Linked DNA regions of Homo sapiens: regions 2 and 3 are each linked to region 1. Evidence: promoter capture Hi-C in 16 types of primary human blood cells and fetal thymus (Javierre and others, 2016). All regions are on one chromosome and are shown on one strand. Each heading gives the region's core, a stretch centred on a gene start or on the middle of the fragment in contact. The rest is flanking DNA. Distances are from core to core; before and after follow the strand shown. Region 1 holds the start of ZNF689 (zinc finger protein 689). Region 2 holds the start of TBX6 (T-box transcription factor 6). Region 3 holds the start of TAOK2 (TAO kinase 2).

Region 1 (4,745 bases), core at 1,229-3,728:
ACCCTTGGGGGTGGCATTGAGCTGGTGAAACTCTGCAGTATAACACATACATAGAAGTAGGGGCTAGGGCGGGCGTGGTGGCTCATGCCTGTAATCCCAGCACTTTGGGAGGCAGAGGTGGTTGGATCATGAGGTCAGGAGTTCGAGACCAGCCTGGCCAAGATGGTGAAATCCCGTCTCTACTAAAAATACAAAAATTAGCCGAGCAAAGTGGCGGGTGCCTGTAATCTCAGCTACTCGGGAGGCTGAGGCAGGAGAATCACTTGAACCCGGGAGGCCAAGGTTGCAGTGAGCCGAGTTTGCACCACTGCACTCTAGCCTGGGCAACAGAGCAAGACTCCGTCTAAAAAAAAAAAAAAAAAGGGCTGGGCACAGTGGCTCACGCCTGTAATCCCAGCACTTTGGGAGGCTGAGACGGGTGGATCACGAGGTCAGGAGATCAAGACCATCCTGGCTAACATGGTGAAACCCCGTCTCTACTAAAAATACAAAAAATTAGCTGGGCGTGGTGGCGGGCGCCTGTAGTCCCAGCTACCCGGGAGGCTGAGGCAGGAGAATGGCGTGAGCCCGGGAGGCGGAGCTTGCAGTGAGCCGAGATGGCGCCACTGCCCTCCAGCCTGGGTGACAGAGCGAGACTCCGTCTCAAAAAAAAAAAAAAAAAAAAAATGTGGAGGCTAATGGGGTGGGTGCTGGCTTGTTCCATCAGCAATTTTCAGTTCAGTGCCTTTCACATACATGCTTGTATCATTCTGTTATGATTCATTGTGAATTTATATGCTTTACTAGACTGTAAGCTCCATTCAAAGCATGGCCTATGACTTATTTATGTACGCTCTCCCAATTGCCTAGCACTATGCTTTGTACGTTGAACAAATGTCACGTGAAAATAATGTAGGGAGATTATGCAGAATATTGAACTTGAGAAGAAAACAAGAGCTCAGGTGGATTCCTGGTTTAGCAAGCAAATTAGGATACTGTGAAGGAAGGATGCCTATCAGTGGTATGAATAAAGGCTCTGTCTGCCCCAGGTTTAAATCTTTATTCCCCACTCCTTACTAGCAGTATGGCCCTGGAAACTCATGGAATCCCTCTGAGATCGTTTCTTCATTAGTAGAACCAGGATGATAACCATTGGTTCACAAAATGCTAGTAAAGAATTAATAACGGGCTGGGTGTGGTGGCTCACTCCTGTAATCCCAGCACTTTGGGAGACCGAGGTGGGCGGATTGCTTGAGCTCAGGAGTTCGAGACCAGCCTGGGAAACATGGCGAAACACCGTCTCTACCAAAAATACAAAAAATTAGCAGAGCACTGTGGGTGCATGCCTTCACTCCAGCCTGGGCAACGGAATGAGACCCAGTCTCAAAAAAAAAAAGCGAATAACTAATGGCTCCGGTGCTGTGGCTTATGCCAGTAATCCCAGCCCTTTGGGAGGACGAGGCAGGAGGATCACTTAGCCTAAGGGTTCGAGACCAGCCTGGGCAACACAGGGAAACCCTGACTCAACAAATAACATAAAAAATTAGCCAGGCGTGGTAGTGCACACCAGTAGTCCCAGTTACTCTGAAGGCTGAGGCAGGACGATTGCTTGAGCCCAGGAGTTAGAGGCTGCAGTGAGCTGAGATTGCACTACTGCATTCCATCCCGCCCGGGTAACAGAGTGAGACCCTGTCTCAAAAAAATAAAAATAAGGCCGGGCATAGTGGCTCACGCCTGTAATCCTAGCACTTCGTGGGGCCGAGGTGGGTGAATCACTTGAGGTCAGAAGTTCGAGACCAGCCTGGCTAACATGGTGAAACCCCATCTCTGCTAATAAATATGAATATTAGTCAGGAGTGGTGGCACGCGCCTGTAATCTCACTTACTCGGGAGGCTGAGGCAGGAGAATCGCTTGAACGTGGGAGGTGGAAGCTGCAGTGAGCCGAGATTTCGCCACTGCACTCCAGCCTGGGCGACAGAGCACGACTCTGTCTCAAAAATAAATAAATAAAATAAAAATAAAAAATAATAAAGATGAAATATGTAATATGCTGGGCATGGCGCCTGCCCCCAGGAAATGCTAACCATAATTCCCTCCCCTAAAGGGCAAACAAAGAAGATAACCATTCTCCAAAGTCAAGGATGCTCTGAGAACACCAGTAAAAGGAACTCAGGATAATCTCAGCTCTAACTCGGCCAGAGTGGCTCCATCGCTCAAATCGTTCCCTCCTTCAGTGATTGGCTGAGCCTGCCAGAGTCGAACAGCGGAAAGCAGCCCCGGGGCCTCTTGCTGCCCCCAGGTCGGTGCAAGTCGCTTCACAACTCCTTGTAGTCGCCTGATCCTAGCAGTCCAGCTTCCTGCCCTTATGCAGCTCTTGGCTTCGTTCAAACGGACCGCCTTTGCTAGCACCCAATCAGAACGCTCGATCTTCGGCTCTCGTCCAATGAACGCGCGTATTGGGGAGGGGAAAAAAGACGGCGTGAAGCCCAATCGCAGCGCCATTACACTTGAGGGCAAAGAGGTTAGGAAGCCGGCATGGCGCTCCGGTCAATAAAATCGATAGCTGGAAGCTGCCTGTGTTCCAGGCAAAGGCGGTGCGGTAGCAGCGCCGCCATTTTCCCCGAAGGCATCTTCCGGTGCCTTTCACCCAAGTTCGGGCAGGAGTTTCCTGAATAACAGCAAAAGGTTTCCGTTAGCCCCGCGGGCGACCAATTCCGATTCCCTCCGGGCCTCCCCGGCCACGCTCAGCCCTGGTCCGGCAGGGGCTCCTCGATCCCAGGGGCCGCCAGCGCCCGAGGGCCGAGGCCTGGACACGGAAGGCCGTGGCGCCGGCTTCTCGGGTCCCATGGCGCCACCTTCGGCTCCGCTCCCTGCGCAGGGACCAGGAAAGGCCAGACCCAGTCGGAAAAGGGGCAGGAGGCCGAGGGCTCTGAAGTTCGTGGACGTGGCCGTGTACTTCTCCCCGGAGGAGTGGGGCTGCCTGCGGCCCGCGCAGAGGGCCCTGTACCGGGACGTGATGCGGGAGACCTACGGTCACCTGGGCGCGCTCGGTGAGGCCGGCCCCATCCGCTGCCGCGGGGCGCGAAGGGATGCAGGAGCCGGAGAGGGTGTAGGCAGGGAGGCCACGGTCCTGGCAGGCGACCAGGTTGTCAGGGGAGGTGGGCAGGGGCTTAGCAGGAGGTGCCGTCGGGGAGATACTACTCGGCGTGATCTAGGAGCTGGCCTTCTGATTTGTTCTCTTTCCCCAGGGTGCGCAGGTCCCAAACCAGCCCTCATCTCCTGGTTGGAACGAAACACCGATGACTGGGAACCGGCTGCTCTAGATCCGCAGGAGTACCCGAGAGGGCTAACAGTCCAGAGAAGTGAGTGCTAAATAACCACGCAGAGCCTGCAGCCCTCCTATAACGTTCTACCTCTAACGGCTCTGTCCAGAGTTTTGGTTGGGCTAGGGGTGGGTGCCGCGTATTTAGTATATTCATCTTCCCAGCCTCTTGTGTCTGGTGGTGTGGGGCCGGTCCACCACACAGAGATTCCTATGTCAGTCTGCAAGCTGCAGTTTTCCACTGTGTGAATGAATCAGTGGGCTTATTCTTCGTCTTTTTTTTTTTTTTTTTTTTTTGTAGAAACATTGTCTTGCTCAGTTCGGTCTTGAACTTCTGGCCTCAAGCGATCCTCCTGCCTTGGCCTCCCAAAATGCAGGGGTTACTGGCGTGAGCCATTGCAGCCAGCCAGAATCAGTGAGCTTTTAACAGGTGCTACCCTCTGCCTCCTTTCCAGGATCTCTGCCTCTAGCCACCTTTGAGTTGGACCAAAGAGATCCTAAACTTCTCAGAGTTTTCTGGGTTTTGGTTGAAGGGAGCTCATGGGGAACAGCTGCCTGGGATGCAGGGGCCTCTTTCTGCTCTTACGGCAGGATGACCCTTATCAGCGAAGGACATACTGCAATCTCCTCAGAATCCAACAAGGCTCTGCTTAACCCCATTCAGGTAGAAGGGTCCCAGATCCACCCATAGTAGAAGATGGAGCTGTCTGGGCTGGAATTTCAGAGCCAGATTCTTCAAGACCAGGGATAGCTGTCCAAGATTCAGATCTGACCATGATATTTCCTTGCTTAAAACTTTTCAGTTAATTTTTGCCAAGGTTGTTAAATGGCCATTGGTTATATCTAAATCACTTGGGGAACTTGGTAAAAACGCAGGTTCCAGGACCCCATCCCAGAGCTATTCATTCACTCGTGTGAATGTTTAGGAACTTCCATTTTTTAAATAGCCTCAGCTGATTCAGATGTGCATCTAGGTTTGAAAACCGGCCGGCTGGTGGCTCATGCCTGTAATCCCAGCACTTTGGGAGGCCGAGGTGGGTAGATCACTTGAGGTCCGGAGTTCAAGACCAGCCTGACCAACATCGTGAAACCCCGTCTCTACTAAAAAAATACAAAAATTAGCCGGGCACTATGGTGGGCGCCTGTAATTCCAGCTACTCAGGAGGCTGAGGCAGGGAGAATTGCTTGATCCTGGGAGGTGGAAGTTACAGTGAGCCGAGATCATGCCAGTGTACTCCAGCCTGGGTGCCACAGTGAGACTCCATCTTGGGGGAAAAAAAAAAAGAAAAGAAAACCATTGGGTAAAATACAGTCCAAGGTCTTTAACAATGCTAACAGCAGTGGTTCTCAAAGCGTGGTCTCAGACCAGAAGCAGCATTATTTGGAAACTTGTTAGAAATGCACATTCTTGGACCCTACCCCAGACCTGCTGAATCCAAAGCG
Region 2 (4,196 bases), core at 500-2,999, 520 kb after region 1:
CCCAGGAGGCAGAGCCTTGCAGTGAGCGGAGACAGAGCGAGACTCCGTTTCAAAAATAATAATAATTAATAAAGAGCTGGCCTAAACAAGAGGTCAAAAACTCAAGTGCCAGGCTGGGTGTGGTGGCTCACGCCTGTAATCCCAGCACTTTTGGGAGTCTGAGGCAGGTGGATCACCTGAGGTCAGGAGTTCGAGAACAGCCTGACTAACATGGTGAAACCCCATCTCTACTAAAAATACAAAAATTAGCTCGGCGTGGTGGTGGGCGCCTGTAATCCCAGCTACTCGGGGCCAAGGCAGCAGAATCACTTGAACCCGGGAAGCGGAGGTTGCAGTGAGCCGATATCGCGCCGTTGCACTTCCAGCCTGGGCGACAGAGCAAGACTCCCTCTCAAAACCAAACAAACAAAAAAACCTCAAGTGCCTGCAAGGCCAAGCAGATACTGTAGATGTGTAAAGGGTAGCATAGATTGGCAGGGTTGGGAGTTGGGGGCAGGCTGGGCAAACTGGAGTGAGCAAGGCCTACTTATATTTTAATACTTTAAAGTTATTTTTATTAAACTGTCTGCTGTCCAAACATAATACATGTTGTAGGCCAAAATGGCCATGAAGCTACCAGTTTGCAAACCCTGAACTGTGAAATCTTTTAGCCACTTCCCTATCTTCTCTGTTGGAGCCATCATTAGTACTTAAAAAAGTACCTTTGAGTCAGGGAGTTCTATTCTACTCTGTGTTTGTGAGAAATACGGCCCTGCCCCTCTGGGCCACAGTTTCCTCATATGTAAAATGGGGCCACTCATGTCCACTTCCCAACCCCAGTGCCTTGTGGTGAGACTGTTGCTCCGGGGATGACGGTCCCGCCCCTCCTTTCAGGAACAGGCCTTTGAGAGCAGCCAGAAGTACAAAGAGGGGAAGTACATCATTGAACTCAACCACATGATCAAAGACAACGGCTGGGACTGACCCCCGCTCCCCCGACGCATGTGGCTCCAGCCCGGCCTGGCCGCCAGGGAGCGCCACTGGCTTCCCGCCACCCGAAGGGAGCTCTGGACCCTCAGAGCCCCTGCAGAGGACGGATCTAGCTCCTGTATATATATTTTATTGCATGCACTGTGACCTTGGGGGGAGAACAGAAGGGGGACGACGCCCCCGCACCTCCTGCGATCTGGCTGGCTTGGATCTCGTTTTTAACCCGTTCCTGCCCCACCTGCCCTATAGTTATGGCCTGTGTTCTGCTCTCCTGGTCCCAGTGCACCGTCTGCTCTGTGAACTCCTCCCACCAGGCCCTTCTTACCCCACGCGTGTCTGTCCCCCTCGTTCTGTAGCGTTTGTACATAATAAAACAATGGAGTGGAGACAGCTCAGGCTCGCGTGTAATCCGGGAAGGGGGAGCTCAAGCGGAGATTTCCGCCCCTATAGACCTGTGCGGTTCTGAGCCCCGGCGGGGCATGGGGTAGGCACAGCCGTCCAAGCTGGGTCTCCGGGAACCGGGACGGTTTCACTGCTGGCGGAGGTCCTGAGCCCACTCTGGCTGCCTACGCCGTGACCTCGGCTGATCTGCGTCTGCTCATCTGCAGCGTTTGGCCGCCGCCTAGGGGCAGCGTCCCAGGGAGGCAACCGCGCCGCCGGCCTCGCAGCCCCCTCGCGGTCGGACTGCAACTCCCAGCGGCCCCCGCGTGGTCCGTCCGGCTCCTTCGGGCGCGCCTCAGCGCTGAGCCTGCCGGGAAGTGTAGTTCCGAGGGTTCCCCAGCGCGGGACCTTCGGGAAACCCTGGCGCGAGGCGTCAGAAGCTGTCGGACTGTGAGCGCCTTCGAACTTTGGAGGCTTGGCTCGGGATGGAGGTTTTTTTAGCATGGGGACCAGGGAGGACTACGGTGCTCGGGACTGGGCTGCGGCCTCCTCGCGGCCCCGAGTGCCCTGTGAAATCAGCTCAGGCCGCGTCCCTCTAGCCTGCACTTTCCCTCTGTTCACGCTGCTTCCCTCCAGGGCCCGGCCTCCAAGTGAAGGGGGGCGGAGGGCGGTCACCTGCCAGAAGGTCTGGGGCGCCAAGGTGTGTCCCGGGACTCTTGGCTCCGTCCAGGTTCCAGGCCCCGCCCCCCAGCTTATCCCTAGCCGGGGCTCCCCACCGTGGGAACGGGGACCAGCTGGCCGGAAGCGCCAAACTGCGTCCCTGTCCGAGCCCTGGGGATCAATCAAGCCGAGGAGTTAATTATGTAATGAGGGGGCAGGGGGTCGAGGCTAATGAAGCCTCCCGGGGTGGGGAGGGAGGGGAGGAGGGGACCGTACCCAGGTATCCGACCCCCTCTCGGACCCCTTCGAGGCCCCAGGGGTCTCCACCCCAGCCCAACTCCAGGGCCCCAAAGAGGGGAGGGGCTGTGATCCTGGATCTGGAAGGGGCTGAGCTGTGAGCTATAAAGGGGGCATCTCGCAGCACCGGGGGCCCTAAGCAGCGAGACCTGAGGCCAGACGGAACTACAACATGTACCATCCACGAGAATTGTACCCGTCCCTGGGGGCCGGCTACCGCCTGGGGCCCGCCCAACCTGGGGCCGACTCCAGCTTCCCACCCGCCCTAGCGGAGGGCTACCGCTACCCCGGTGAGCGTTGGGACCAGCTCCTGGGTAGGAGAATAGGGGGGCTGTGGCCCTCGGCTGGCTCCTCATTCTTCCCCGGCTTCCAGAACTGGACACCCCTAAACTGGATTGCTTCCTCTCCGGGATGGAGGCTGCTCCCCGCACCCTGGCCGCGCACCCACCTCTGCCCCTTCTGCCCCCTGCCATGGGCACTGAGCCGGCCCCATCAGCTCCAGAGGCCCTCCATTCCCTCCCGGGGGTCAGCCTGAGCCTGGAGAACCGGGAGCTATGGAAGGAGTTCAGCTCTGTGGGAACAGAAATGATCATCACCAAAGCTGGGAGGTGAGGGGCTGGCCAGGGTCCGTGTTTCTGGTGGGGGTCTCTTGGGAAAGGCAGAGTCCCTGGGGAGGGGGCTAGGACTGGGTGGTTCCCGAGGGGCTAGAGCTCTGCCTAGGCCTAGAATCTGACTATGGCCTGGGGCAAGGGTTACTCTGTGGCAGGAATCAGGAGTCACTCTGTGACAAGGGTTAAGGGCCAGTCTGTGGAGTCTGTGGCTGAGTTTAGGGACCAATCTATGGCAAGGGTCATGGGTCAGTCTGGGGCAGGGTCAGGAAGTCCCTCTGGGTTATAGGTTAGTGTGTGGCTTAGACCAGCATCCAGACAAGGACAGGGGGTCAAGGGCCAGCCCATTGACCAGCATCAGGGAAATCTGGCCAGGATTCGGGATCAGTATGCAACTCGAATAGGAGTCAGTATATGACTAGGTCCAGGGTCACCCTAGAGGCAGGGACACGGTCAGTGTTTGACCTTAGATGAGGTCTTTAGCTGGGGCAGGAACTCAAGCCCTAGCATGGAAAGTCCTCGGCCCTACTGCAGGCAGGGTATATTTTTTCTAAAGCAAATTCATCTAAGAGCTGCAGATTCTGGTGCTGGAGATCAGGGGAGGAGAGGAGGGTGGGGACAGGAAGCTCCTAGCAAGAAAGTTAGTCACCCCTGCTTCTGCAAATAGGCTTTGAGGGGTAGGAGTCATGGCTCTGTTCCTAACCTGCTGTGTGACAGATCACTTAACCCGTCTGTCCTGTTTCCCCAAATGTAAAATGAGACAAGAAAACCTTCCAGCTCTAAGATTCCGCCCTCTGGCTTCTTTTTTTTTTTTTTTTTTTTTTTGAGATGGAGTCTCGCTCTGTTGCCCAGGCTAGAGTGTAGTGGCACGATCTCGTCAGCTCACCGCAACCTCTGCTTCCTGGATTCAAGCGATTCTCCTGCCTCAGCCTCCCGAGTAGCTGGGACTATAGGCACACACCACCACACCCGGCTAATTTTTGTAGTTTTAGTAGAGACGGTGTTTCACCATATTGGCCAGGCTGGTCTCAAACTTCTGACCTCATGATCCTTCCACCTCGGCTTCCTAAAGTGCTGAGATTACAGGCATGAGCCACTGCGCCTGGCCCTTTTTCATTTTTCAGAGACAGTGTCTTGCCCTGTTGCCCAGGCTGGAGTGCAGTGGTGCAATTGTGGCTCACTGTAGTCTTGACTTCCCAGGCTCAAGTGACCCTCCCGCCTCAGCCTCTGTAGTAACTGGGACTATCAGTGTGCACCACCATGCCTGGCTAATTTTTTAAT
Region 3 (4,627 bases), core at 726-3,225, 630 kb after region 1:
GAGGCACTGCTGAGGAAGGGGAGGGGGAGATTAGGAACAACATCAAAGCTCCAAAAAATGAAGTTGCCCTGGCAACCAGATCACGCGGGCTGGGTCCCTGGAGTCCCTAAAACTGCTAGGAAGATTCTGGGAAGCTAAGTATCCTCACCACCCCCTTCAGTGCTCAACAAGTTCTCATTTCCCTATAGCCCCTGTATCTCCCCTCAAGGATAAAACATTCTGCTTCCCAGCCAGCACTCCAGAGCCCCAAGTGTCCTGTCCCATAAGTCCTATACCCCAACTGTTTCCAGGCACCTTTCTGTTCCCCTTGGCGCTGAGGCCCCCTCCTCCCTCAACCTCTCACACCCTGGAAGAGAACAGGAAATGGCCAGGCCGGAGGCGGTGGAAATCCGTCCATTGTTAGAAGTGGGTACTGGCCCAGAGGAGCCCGCAAAGTCACTCTCAAAAAAGTCAGGGGGAGATCTAGAATGGGAAGAATAGGGATATAAATGGCATCTGGCTATGAGGGCCTCTCTGTGCTCTGGGCCACCTTACTTGTCCTGTCCAACTGCATAAGCATCACACACAGGTACAGGACATTTGCAGGGTACAAATAACATTTACTGAGTACCTTACGTGCATTATCTCTATTCAGTCCTCACTACAACCTTATGAAGCAAGTACTATGATTTCCCCTATCTTACAGATAAAGAAACAGGCTCAGCAAGGTTAAGTGCCTTGTCCAAAGCTGGTCCTCCATCACTATGATTTCAGAGCAGCCCTTCGAAACAGGCAGGGCAGAATCATGATCACCATTTCCTAGGTGAGGTCACTGAGGCACAGAGAAGAAAAAGGACTTCTCCAAGGTCAGAGAACAGGACCTTCGGCTCCCCGGTTAGGCCTGTATCCATTACTCTCTCAGCTGTCACCCCAAGCTCAGCTCCCCTCTTGCAGGAAGCCTGTCCTGACCACTCCAGCCATTGGGAAGAGCACCTAGGGCACCCAACCAAACACCCGGAGAAAGTTCCTGCAGGATACCAGAACCAAAACCCTCAAGGAGATTCCAAGACAGGCTCCAGCCTAAGCACTTGTCAGAATTTAGGCACAAAGGAGCCTTCAGCAGAGCTGGACTCCTGGGGCAGAGTTCTAGCTACTCAAAAGCACCTAACAATTTTAGCATGTAATTTATTCTGTCATGCATTGTTTCCTGTTGTGTTGTTAATTTTGTCTCAGCCCAACTGGAAGCTGGAGGGCAAGGAGGGAGCCTGACTCTCCAGTGGGCCCCCAGGGTGCAGAGGGCTCAGAATAGCCTGGGAGACTGAGTGATTGCTCTCTGCTCAGCCCTCAGCAGCTCGCAGGTTGCTCAAAGCCGGCCCTTTTCTCCCTTCTGCCAGCAACAGTGCCAAGCACCCCTCACCAGCACCACACACCCACACACAAAGGCAGGTGCTCTCAACTTGCCAAAGGAATCTTCCTGACCTCTTTACCAACACAAGGCCCCAGAATGCTAACCTAGGCCACACGGAGGGGTGCCACCCACTGGCAAAACATCATGCAGGTCCCCTTCCCCATAATAACAACAAACACTTGAACAATAACCAAGGTCTGTGCTAAATCATAACCACCTTCCAAAACGAACAATGTTATCTCCATTCTACAGATGAGGAAACCCGTATCTATCTGTTCCTAAGCTATGCTACCAGTACATCCCGTCTGCAATGTACAGCAACAGGGCTTTAAATAAGTTCCTTCCAGTTCTTGGTCTTCTCTTCAGTGAAATGGATTACAGCATGGAGCTGTTGTTAAGATTTTAATGAGATCTCATACTTAGGAACACCATGCAGACACTCAGCATATGGATTTTTCCTTCCCTGCCTCCAAGGTCCCCACAAAGCTTTAATCCTTTGGGGGATCATTCTACCCCAACAGCTTGGCTTGAACAGTTAAAAGATGCCACTAGTGCTACCATTTGTCAGGAGAGAGCCCTCTCAGGAATCCAGGCCAAACCCTGGGATTGGGGTAAAGATGAAGGTCACAGTGGATAGAAAACTCCATGAGGCAGAGGCAAAAGCCAGAGGCTCCCATCAGGAAAAGCTTCTGAGTAGAGCCCTCCTGGAAAGGAAGCTCATCTCATCCCCATTCTTAAACCTCACCCCAGCCTGGACTCCTAGGGACCCCTGGCCGAGCCCAAACTCAGAGGAAAAGAGATGGCAAGAACCAGGCATGCATCAGGGAAAGATGTGATTGAGGACTTGAGTTCAAATTCTGGTTCTGCCACTGTGTGACCTTGGGCAACCTCTCTCGGCCTCAACGTTCTCAACTGTAAAATGGGAAGATGCCAATAAAAGAGGCCCCCACAGGGTGAATGCGGGGATGTCACATGAGAGAATGGCTGTCAAAGCACTTTGTAAAAGACAGATCGTTTGACAAATGGATGAGATTATTGACACCATCACAGCAAGAGGTTGGAAGGTAACTGCAGCTGGGGGAAAACATTGCCAGGCACCTCCAAGCACACACACACACGCATACACACAAACACATATACACACACTTCCTTGCAAGGACAAGAAATCCAACCAGACCAGGCCTGAAAAGCAGATAAGCAGACCCACCATGGGAATCAGAGGCATGGGAATCAAAACCACAGAATAGCCAGGAGAACGGGACATATCAGGGAGGAGAGGTGGCTGTGAGGGGCAAAGTGAAGGAGAGAAGACTGAAGTGCAAATCCATCTGATTAGCTGAAGCACCCTAGGGTGTGAACGCCGGTGACATCAGAGACCCTGTCACCTGAGGTCCCCCACCAACCAGACACAATGAAGGGAAGAGGAAGGGGAAGGGGGTGGCAACAGAAGGCAAGGCTAGCCAGAGGCTGACCACTCGCTCAGCTGGGCTTCCCCATCCTGAGAGGGCCTACCCAAGTCCAGCTTCTCAGAAAGGCGCACCCTTTCTTCTCAGAACTAGACACAGGGACCCGCGCCCCTGCACCCCGTGTCTCACCTGGTAGGGGTCACTATGGTGCCCCAGCGCCTCCGCTTCCGCCTGGGGTCCTCCAGCGGCTCTGCCAAGCAGGGAGAGGGGCAAGGAGACCTTTCCCCTTGCCACCTCTTCCTCGGCTTTCGCCCTTCCTGAGGGGCGGGCCCGGGAAGCCTCCCCTGGAGGGGAGGGGGTGACAACCTAATCTGACCTCGCGGTCCAGTCCTCCCCCTCGTCGAGGGCGACAGCTGCCGAATTCCGGATTTCTGATTGTGGGGTCTGAACCCCGAATATCTGAACGGGATGGAGACTGAATCCGATATTTGAACGCCCGGGGAATGAACCCCGGATACTGGTGCACGCAGGGGCCTGAACCTGATATTTGAAATTCTATGAAACAGAGACCCAGGTTTAGAGAGGTTGGGACCCGAGTCCCGGATATCTGGACTATGAGGACTGTTACCCGGGTATCTGAGAAAGGAGGAGGGGCAAAGCCTGGAAATTTGGGACCCAGGGGCCTGAGCTGTAGGTCTTCGGCCACCGACTGGGGGCCCACCCCGAGGACGTCCGGCCGCACGGCCCCTCTCACGCCGGGGTCCGAGGGTGACAGCCCCCACTCCCGCCCCGGCCTCCTCCCTCTCCCTTCTCTCTTCCGAGAATAGCTGAACGATTGTAGCTAAGGTGCTGCTGACGGTCCCCGCGCCCTCTCTGCCTCTCCTCTTCTCCGTCTCAGCCTCTCTCCGCACCACAGCCCCGGTCTCGTCCCGGTCTCCCTCTCCCTCTTCCTCCCAATTCCAAGATGGAGACCGGGCGGGAGCGCGCAGGCGCGGTAGGGACGCCGGGCTAAAGGGGGCGGGGGCGCAGAGGACTCAGCCCCGCCCTCTCTCCTCACTGCCGCGGCCTGGGAGACCGGCAGCCGCCAAGCCCGAGTGCGCGCCCGCCCCGCCACGCGGACCCCAGGCCGGAGGAGGCGGGGAGAAGAGCTAGACTTGCAAGGGGAGGAGCCCGGCACTCTGTCCCACGACTGGCGGTGGACAGAGCTGCAGCGCATGCGCTCGCCCCGCCTTCGCTCTGAGCCCGAGCTTGTTGCTAGGGGAAGCTTTGAGGGGGCGCGGGTGGACGGACAGCAGCGGCGATCTGCGACTGCGCGCAGGGTGGAAGTTGGGAGGGGCAAAGGAAGCTGCTGCTGGGCGCGGAAAAGGCGGGAAAATAGACTGCTCCGAGGTTAGCAACCATCTAACCTGGAAAAGGGCCTCCAAGTGCGAGGAATCTTTGCGCGTCGACGCTGGGAAAACTCAATCGGTCAAATCTCTTACGGAAATTGAGGCGCTGCAGGTTGCAAGACTTGCCAAGGTCACAGTGCATTTATGTCACAGCATTTCCATGACCTGACACCCCACCCGCCCAACTAACTGTAATTATCCATTTTATTTCGTAGAAGAAAACAAGACAGGTGTTTACCAAAGCCAAGTCAACCATGGGGAGAGCTCAAGTAACCTATGCCCTATGCCAACCTGTGTCCAAACTAGAGAGTCAACAGGAAAGAGTCCCCCAAAACTTCTAAGCCTGCCTACCCTAAAATCCCCACCTCAATCCAACCCCCAATAAACACCATACACGCCACTGGGCAAAAAAGCTTTTTATTTTCCCCCACATTCCAGCTCTTCAC

The links. The method cuts DNA at HindIII sites, captures the fragments that hold promoters and counts their contacts. A CHiCAGO score of 5 or more calls a contact.
Region 2: the fragment with the promoter of TBX6 here is called in contact with the fragment with the promoter of ZNF689 in region 1 in 3 of 17 cell types (naive CD8 T cells, fetal thymus and erythroblasts); the score reaches 5.5 in naive CD8 T cells.
Region 3: a contact is called between a fragment that was not itself captured here and the fragment with the promoter of ZNF689 in region 1, in 2 of 17 cell types (naive CD8 T cells and total B cells). The highest score is 5.4, in naive CD8 T cells.

What each region holds. Positions count from the first base shown.
Region 1 is chr16:30,608,122-30,612,866 of GRCh38, reverse strand. It overlaps ZNF689 (zinc finger protein 689), which reads left to right and starts at 2,478. Exons shown (of 3, transcript NM_138447.3): 1 at 2,478-3,030; 2 at 3,229-3,342. The coding sequence starts at 2,826. It overlaps LOC124903678 (a long non-coding RNA gene), which reads right to left and starts at 2,393. Exons shown (of 2, transcript XR_007065051.1): 1 at 2,104-2,393. RefSeq lists an enhancer at 1,482-2,451 and a silencer at 2,739-2,788. The HindIII fragment of the contact is 6,999 bases long and covers 1-4,745 here.
Region 2 is chr16:30,089,477-30,093,672 of GRCh38, reverse strand. TBX6 (T-box transcription factor 6) reads left to right here and starts at 1,749. Exons shown (of 9, transcript NM_004608.4): 1 at 1,749-1,800; 2 at 2,432-2,597; 3 at 2,681-2,915. The coding sequence starts at 2,480. YPEL3 (yippee like 3) reads left to right here. Exons shown (of 4, transcript NM_031477.5): 4 at 874-1,359. The coding sequence ends at 963. RefSeq lists enhancers at 1,090-1,279, 2,412-3,285 and a silencer at 1,500-1,759. The HindIII fragment of the contact is 24,011 bases long and covers 1-4,196 here.
Region 3 is chr16:29,973,004-29,977,630 of GRCh38, reverse strand. It overlaps TAOK2 (TAO kinase 2), which reads right to left and starts at 3,763. Exons shown (of 16, transcript NM_016151.4): 1 at 2,983-3,763. It overlaps LOC124903762, which reads right to left and starts at 4,009. Exons shown (of 2, transcript XM_047435036.1): 1 at 3,851-4,009; 2 at 2,996-3,634. The coding sequence starts at 4,009. The coding sequence ends at 2,996. TMEM219 (transmembrane protein 219) reads right to left here. Exons shown (of 6, transcript NM_001083613.2): 6 at 4,583-4,627. RefSeq lists enhancers at 870-1,369, 1,370-1,871, 2,673-2,802, 2,509-3,280 and a silencer at 3,704-4,073. The HindIII fragment of the contact is 200 bases long and covers 1,876-2,075 here.